Linked DNA regions of Homo sapiens: region 2 is linked to region 1. The links are contacts of gene promoters, found by promoter capture Hi-C in human tissues and cell types (Jung and others, 2019). All regions are on one chromosome and are shown on one strand. The core of a region is centred on a gene start or on the middle of the fragment in contact, and the rest is flanking DNA. Distances in the headings are between cores, read along the strand shown.

What was found. The method cuts DNA at HindIII sites, captures the fragments that hold promoters and counts their contacts. A contact is called where the count stands out against the background at its distance.
Region 2: a fragment that was not itself captured here is called in contact with the fragment with the promoter of BST1 in region 1 in 1 of the 25 tissues and cell types used here (dorsolateral prefrontal cortex).

The regions. Positions count from the first base shown.
Region 1 is chr4:15,700,372-15,704,695 of GRCh38, reverse strand. BST1 (bone marrow stromal cell antigen 1) reads right to left here and starts at 1,631. Exons shown (of 9, transcript NM_004334.3): 1 at 1,364-1,631. The coding sequence starts at 1,551. RefSeq lists a silencer at 1,613-1,692. The HindIII fragment of the contact is 14,003 bases long and covers 1-4,324 here.
Region 2 is chr4:15,481,467-15,485,702 of GRCh38, reverse strand. All of the region lies in intron 4 of CC2D2A (coiled-coil and C2 domain containing 2A), which reads right to left. Among named protein-coding and RNA genes, the nearest start is that of CC2D2A, 14 kb to the right of the region's middle. The HindIII fragment of the contact is 5,893 bases long and covers 1-4,236 here.

The DNA of each region.
Region 1 (4,324 bases), core at 382-2,881:
ACTAAACATCTGCTGGGTGGCAATGGGCTGTTACCCAGTTCACCTCTACCCCACCCTCACTTCTAGAGGGATACCTCTCCACCCTCCTTCACACTCACACACACCTCTCACCTCTAGACCACACACACATCCCTCACCTCTAGACCACACACACATCCCTCACCTATAGACCACACACACACACCTGTCACCTCTAGACTACACACACACACCCCTCACCTCTAGAACAAACACACACACATCTCACCTCTAGAACACACACACAACTCACCTCTAGAACACACACACACACACATCCCTTACCTCTAGAACACACACACCTCTCACTTCTAGAACACACACACCCATCATCTCTAGAACACACACATCTCACCTCTAGAACACACACCCCTCAACTCCAGAACACACACACACCCCTCACCTCTAGAACACACATACACACCTCATCTCTAGAACACACACTCTCCTCAGCTCTAGAATACACATACACCCCCTCACCTCTAGAACACACACACCCCTCACCTCTAGACCACACACACATCCCTCACCTCTAGACCACACACACATCCCTCACCTATAGACCACACACACACACCTGTCACCTCTAGACTACACACACACACCCCTCACCTCTAGAACACAGATACACACACACCTCTAGAACACATGCACGCACCCCTCACCTCTAGAACACACACACACACATCTCACCTCCAGAACACACACACCCCTCACTTCTAGAACACACACACCCCTCACCTCTAGAATACACACACCCCTCACCTCTAGAGCGCACGCACACACACCCCCTTCACCTCTAGAACACACATGCACACACCCCTCACCTCTAGAACACACATACAGACACCTCACCTCTGGAACACACACACCCCTTACCTCTAGAACACACACACACATCTCACCTTTAGAACACACACACACACCCCTCACCTCTAGAGCACACACACACACACACACCCCCACCTCTAGAGCACACACACACACATCCACCTCTAGAGCACACACACACCTCCCACCTCTAGAGCGCGCGCACACACACACCCCCCTCACCTCTAGAACACACGCACACACCCCTCACCTCTACAGTGTGTGTGTGCGCGCACACACACACACTCATCTCTAGACCCCGCACAGCGCACCCCTCACCTGCAGACACACTTCACAGCCCCCTCCTCACTCGCCCCCATCGTTCAGGACCATCGCTGTCTCCACACTCACCTCTCCCCTCAAGGCCTCTCTCATTGCCCCCTCACCCCGAACTTTAGCGCCAGTTTTCCCCTCCCCAGGCCCTCCCCACCGTTGCCTCTTTCCGGCTCCCCTTCCACCCGGCCGACTGCCTCACCGCTGCTCGGGACTCAGCAGTGCGCGGTACTCGGCGCAGCGGCCCAGGAAGATGTCCCGCAAGTGTGCGCTGGTGCCCTCCCCGCGCCACCGCGCGCGCGCCCCGCCCGCCGCCAGCAGCAACAGTAGAAGCAGAAGCTGCAGCAGCAGCTGGAGCAGCCGCGATGCCGCGCACCCCTGGGCCGCCATCGGGGAACTTTGGTCCCTCCAGTCCCGTGCTTCCTCCACTCCCCTTCTCTCCTTCTACCAAGGCGGTTCCGCAAACTGATGCAGGGCGGGACTCTCGCTCGGATATCTCGCTGTTTGCCGTTTCCCGTTCCAGACAATTTCAAGACTGAGCGTGGGGCGGGGCGCGGCGGCTCATGCCTGTAATCCCAGCACTTTGAGAGGCCTAGACGGGCGGATCGCTTGAGTATAGGAGTTCGAGACAAACCTGAGTAACATACAGGTGAGAAACCTCCTCTCTACAAAAAAATACAAAACTTAGCTGGTCCTGGTGGTGCGCATCTGTAGTCTCAGCTACCTGCGAGGTGAGATGTGAGGAGGCTTGACCCCAGGGGATCGAGGCTGCAGCGAGCAGTGATTGCACCACTGCACTCCAGCCCTGGGCGACAGAGTGAGACTCTGTCTAAAAAAAAAATTAATAAATAAATAAAATTAAAAAAGAGTGAGCTTGGAACATCACCCAGGACAGGACCAGTGCACTGTGGCCCAGGCTAATCTTGACCGCTGTCCACGGGGAGGGAGCCCCAAAGAAGCCGCAAGGTTGAAGGAGAGGTGAGGAGAGGTCAGTCATCATCAGAAGAAATACTTTTCTGGCTCCAAAGGACGACAACTTTGACAGATGCCCTCTTTCACACCAACCAATAAGTGGTGTTTGTTTGTTTTCAGGAAATAATAACCACAACAACGTGCCAAGCACTTTGCAAGTATAATATTAATTACTTTCCGCAACACCCTTCCTAGCTAAGTTTGTAATTTCTCTCGCTTTAGCAATGGATAAACTCAGGGAAGTTAAGCATGTTCGGCCCTCCAGATTTGCGGATTCATCATCCAAATTCAGCTAACCACGGATGAGAAACATTTGAGGAAAAAAAGAATGCTTGCATCTGTACGGAACATGTACGGACTTTTTTTTCCTTGTCATCATTCCCTAAATAATCCAATGTAACAACTACTTATGTAACAATTACATAGTACTTGATATTACAAGGAATCTGGAGATGACGTGAATTATAGAAGAGGATGTGCAAATACTGTATACTACACCATTTAATATAAGGGCCTTGAGCATCTGTGGATTTTGGTATCCAGGAGGTTCCTGGAACCAATTCTCCATGGATACCTACCGCCGACTGTAACTTGTCAGAGGTCACAATATCCCTTCCTGATAGATGCAAAATCCTGGAGATGTTCAGTTTAAGAGAGCCAGGATTGGCCGGGCGCGGTGGCTCACACCTGTAATCCCAGCACTTTGGGAGGCCGAGGCGGGTGGATCACGAGGTCAAGAGATCGAGACCATCCTTGCTAACACGGTGAAACCCCGTCTCTACTAAAAATACAAAAGATTAGCCAGGCGCGGTGGCGGGCGCCTGTTGTCCCAGCTACTCGGGAGGCTGAGGCGGGAAAACGGCGTGAACCCAGGAGGCAGAGCTCGCAGTGAGCCGAGATCGGGCCACTGCACTCCAGTCTGGGCAACAGAGTGAGACTCCGTCTCAAAAAAAAAAAAAAAAAGAGCCAGTATTAATAGAATACCACGTGGAGGCCCAAGTCCTCAATTCTTACAATAATGACAGCAATGAACTTTGAGTGCCTGGCAAGCACTTGATAAACACAAGGGAGGACAGAACAGGTGTTCTCTACTGTTTTATTTGAATCTCTTTTTTTCTGTAACCAAAACCCGCATTCTCCTGTTCAGTTCCTCCTTAAGTTAAATCCACTTTCCAGAGGAAAGCATTTTTAATTCTTTCAAGTTTTGTTCCTGTGTTTACTTCCATATTTCTAAATAACATGTGTGAACCCGCAAATTTTGAGACAGGTCTCAATTAATTTAGAAAGTTTATTTTAGCAAGGTTGAGGACACGTGTCCATGACACAACCTCAGGAAGTCCTGACGACATGTACCCAAGGTGGTCAGGGCACAGCTTGGTTTTATACATTTTAGGGAGACATGAGATATCAATCAATATATGTAAGAAGTACATTGGTTCTGTCCAGAGAGGCGGGGACAACTCGAAGCACGGAGGGGGCTTCCAGGTCTCAGGTAGGTGAGAGACAAATGGTTGCCTTCTTTTGAGTTTCTGATAAGCCTTTCCAAAGAAGGCCATCAGAATATGCATATATCTCAGTGAGCAGCTGAATGACTTTGAATAGAATGGGAGGCAAGTTTGCCCTGAGCAGTTCCCAGCCTGACTTTTCCCTTTAGTTTAGTAATTTTGGGGCATCCCTGGCATGGCTCGTCCCACCAAATCTAATGTGAAATTGTAATCCCCAACGTTGGAGGTGGGGCCTGGTGGGAGGTGATTTTATCATGGGTGTGGGTTTCTCAAGAATAGTCTAGCACCATCCCCTTGTTGCTATTCTCATGATAGTAAGTGAGATCTGGTTGTTTTAAACTGTGTAGCACTGGCAGGGCGCCGTGGCTCACACCTGTAATCACAGCAGTTTGGGAGGCTGGTGTGGGGGGTGTGTTGGGAATCACGGATCGAGACCATCCTGGCCAACATGGTGAAACCCCATCTATACTAAAAATACAAAAATTAGCTGGGCGTGGTGGCACGCACCTGTAGTCCCAGCTCTTCGGGAGGCTGAGGCAGAAGAATCGCTTGAACCTGGGAGGCGGAGGTTGCAGTGAGCTGAGATCTCACCACTGCACTCCAGCCTGGTGACAGAGTGAGACTCTGTCTCAAAAAAAAAAAAAAAAGAAGTGTGTAGCACCTCCTCCCTCTCTCTTGCTCCCTGC
Region 2 (4,236 bases), core at 1,549-4,048, 220 kb after region 1:
CAAATTAAACCACAATGAGATATCTTACTCCAGTTAAAATGGCTTTCATCAAAAAGACAAAACAGATGCTGGCAAGAATGCAGAGAAAAGGGAATGCTTGTATACTGTTAGTGAGAATGTAAATTTGTACAGCTGTTATGGAAAACAATATGAAGTTTCTCAAAAAACTAAAAATAGAACTACCCTATGATCCAGAAATGCCACTGCTGGGTATATATCCAAAAGAAAGGAAAGCAGTATATCAAAGAGATATCTGAACTCCTATTTTTACTGCAGCACTATTCACAACAGCTAAGATACGGAATTAACCTAAGTATCCATCAATGGATAAATGGATAAAGAAAGCATGCTGCATATACACAATGGAATATTATTCAGCCATAAAAAAGAATGAAATTTTGCAGTTTGCAACAACATGGATGGAACTGGAGGACATTATGTTAGTGAAGAAAGCCAGGCACAGAAAGACAACTAGTACATGTTTTCACTCATATGTGGGAGCTAAAACAATTGATCTGATAGAGATAGTGAGTAGAATGATGGTTACCAGAGGCAGGACCCTGTCTTGAGCATTTGTTGTTATGCCCATGGCAGTTTTTCAATATATGTTTATCAAGCTCCAAATATTGCATTGGGGAATAAGCAATGAATACAGCAGACAAAGTCTTGATCTCAGGGAGCTTTCCTTCTAATGATCAAGATAGTCAGCTGATTGGAAAATGCCGGGAGGTGATGAGTGCTCTGAAGGAAAGTAGAACCAGCTGAGAGGAAAGAGGGCAGAGGTGGGAAAGGGACATTCTAGATAAAAGATCAAGGAATCCCTGTCCACTCTCCACCTCTCCCCAACCACCAGATCCCTGTATCCATACATCCATGTCCACTTGGATATTCAGCAGGCATCTCAACTTTGCATGTCCATTCAATTTCTACCTTCAAACCTGCCCTTTCTGCCATCTTTTCCTTCTCTGAAACTCTATTGGGGAAAGTGGAGTTACCCATTTTTGACTCAAGTCAAAAACCATGGAGGCAACCTTCCTGCTTTCATAATTCTTGTTCAATCGAGAAATATACCTGTTCGTCTCTACCTTCCAAATACCCAGATTTCCCACACTCTTTCCACCCCTTCCACTACCCGCCAGTCCCATTCCCCAATAACTCCCACCTGGATTTTTGCTGTTGGCCTCTACCTGGTCTCTGTGCTTCTGCCCTCACTCCTTCCAAAGTCTACTCAGCACAGCAGCCGTCAGCCTTAAATCTGATTATATCAGTCCTGGGCTTGAACCCTCCAATGACGCTCATCTCATTCGGATTAAAAGTCAAAGGGCCCACTAGGCTGGGTACAATTCCCCTCCTCCCTTCTGATTTTATTTTTTTCCTTTTCCTTGTTGTTCACTCTCCACTGCCCTTGCCCCCTGGCTGTTGCTTAATGTCGCAAGCACATTCCTGCCTTAAGACCACTGCCTGGAACATTCTCCCCTTGGGGATCACTCATTTCCTTTCATAAATGCACCTCATCCTCTCACTCCCACTGCAGTCCTGCCAGCTTATTCTTTATCTTTCTCTTCAGGACTTCTCACACCTGCTGTACTCTATGTTTATCTAGTTTACTTCATTTGTTTTTCTCTTTTTTCCTCTCATCCCTCCCACAACTGGAGTATAAACTCTGTGGCAGTGTTCACGCAATCTATTATTGTCCCTGTTTTACAAATAAGGAAACTAAAGTTTAGGTAGGTCGGAGAACTTGCCCAAGGGAGTAAGATAGGTAGAGACTGGTACCCACTCTTGTCTAAGCCAACGCCCATGGTCTTAACTGCAACAGCTCAATTGTGTTTCAATCACAAGCTTAATAAAGACACAATCAGAGAACTCTCTTAAAGTGGGAACCAAAGCCCAGAAATGCTGAGATGGTCACGAGGCATTCAGAGGCCAGTAAGGAGTCAACCAAAGTGGAGCACACTGGAAAACACTGGAAAATACAACCGGAAGGAGCCCAATTGCATAGATCCTTAGAGCCCGGAATAAATAAGAGAGTGTGGATTTTATGTAATGTAATATAATAGATTTCTGAGTAGAAAAGTGAGATAAAGAGGAGTTTTAAAGAAAAATTAATGTGGTAGTAAAAATGTCCATACATTCTTTGACACTCCTTCTTTCAAAAGAAGGAGGCTGATTTTCCTTCCCTTAAATGTGGGCTGGATTTAGGGACATGCTTCTAACAAATATGTCGAAAGGACTGATAGGTGATTTCTATGACTGGGTCATAAAGCACATGGCTGCTTCTATCTTGCTCTTGACCCTCTCCGTGTTTTCTACACATACATCTGTGTGTTTCCAAGACCTGAATTGGGAATCCTCCTCACCCTACAGTTCCCCATGCAGACTCCTCCATATGTGGAGGCTCCATTCTTCTGTCACCTCCCTTGCTATCCTTGCCTGCCTAGGGCAGTCCAGCACTCTGTTGTTTCTGCCAGCACTCATCATTCCTTTTTACTTGTCTGTCTCCTGCTCTAATGCCACTGGTATAATAATACTTCCTCTGCTCTCTTGACTTTGTCTGCTGGCTTTGACTTCTCATTTCTGACAGATGCCTGGCTCCACAGACTCCTTATCCACCATATGCTCCACCCCTCACTGCTGGGGATGTTTTCTCTTCGTCTTGGTTTATCAGTGCTGCCAATTCATCAGCAGCTTCCAGCTCCACCCAGGGCTTCCCAGACACTGGATGGTCATGGTGTGGCTCCAGTAGGCAGGTCTCAGCCTTCTGTTCATTCCATACCTCTCCATTCCCCAATTCAGAAATAGCGCTTTTTGTGGGGGAAGGGACTAATGCATAGATCATCTCCATGGTGACAGTGGACAGTATCTTCTTCATTTTCGAGTTAGAAAATAATCCACTTTTTATGTCACAGAGCCTTGACTGGTGGCCACCTCTCCTGGCAGTCTTTCCCTTGATTTTAAAATAAATAATTAAATATCCAGTAGTTGTGCTAAGGACTGAATTGTGTCCCCCCTCTGAAAATCTGTATGTTGAAGCCTTCTCCCCCAATCTGACTGCATTTAGAGATAGAACCTGTAGGAGGTAATTAAGGTCAAATGCGATCATAAGGGAGGGGCCCTGATAGGATTAGGATTAGTGTCCTTATAAGAGGAGACAGTAGAGCCTCTCCCTCCCCCAGTGCAGGCACAGAGAAGAGGTCATGTGAGCACACAGCAAGATGGTGGCCACCAACTAGCCAGGAAGAAGGGCCTCACTGGAAACCGGCCATGCTGGCACCATGATCTCAGATGTCCAGCCTTCAGAGCCATGAGAAAATAAATGTTGGGTGTTTAAGCCCCCCAGTCTATAGTATTTTGTTATGGCAGCCTGAAATGACAAGTTGTAATCTTTGGTAGTAATAAATAATTTTGAGCATTTAGAAAAAGAAACAGCCATATGAGATAAATTTTGGTTCTGTTTTTATTAATTCATAACAGCTCTCATTGTATCATTGCTTTTAGATTAGAACCACATTTTTCCAATCTAAGAGTCTACTTGCTTCCAAAGGCCTCTAGTTTCCAACAGTTACTTATTTCCCAACTTTGCCATAGGGAAAACAGTCTAACAATTATGTAACAATTAAAAAGTGTAACCACTTCTCCTCTTGTCTAATCCACTTTTCATGAAAAGCAATGCCTGAAGGGTGGTCATTTTCCCTACAATGAGCAGGTAATTCCTAATGTTCATTGTACTGGGGAAGAAGAAAAGGCGTGTGTAGGGGGAGAAGTATATGTGTCCTCAATGGCAAGGTCACCAGGAGCCTCAGAAACCTCCCTCATTTCTTCCAAACATCTGATTCAAGCCTCACTAGGTTAACACATATGTCTTCCCTAACAATTTCATCTTCCTTTGAGTTTCTGCATATTTAATTTCCATTCTAATTAACACTCCCTAACTTATGTATTGTTAGTCCATTTTGCATTGCTATAAAGGAATATCTGAGACTGGGTAATTTATAAAGAAAAGAGGTTTATTTTGGCTCACTGTTCTGCAGACTGTGCAATAAGCATGGTGCCAGCATCTGCCTCTGGTGAGGCCTTAGGAAGCTTTCACTTATGTCAGAAGGGGAAGGGGAAACAGGTGTGTCGCATGGTGAGAGAGGGAGCAAGAGAGAGGGGAGGAGGTTCCAGGCTCTTTTTTGTTTGTTTGTTTTCTGAGATGGAGTCTTGCTCTGTTGCCTAGGCTGGAGTGCAGTGCTC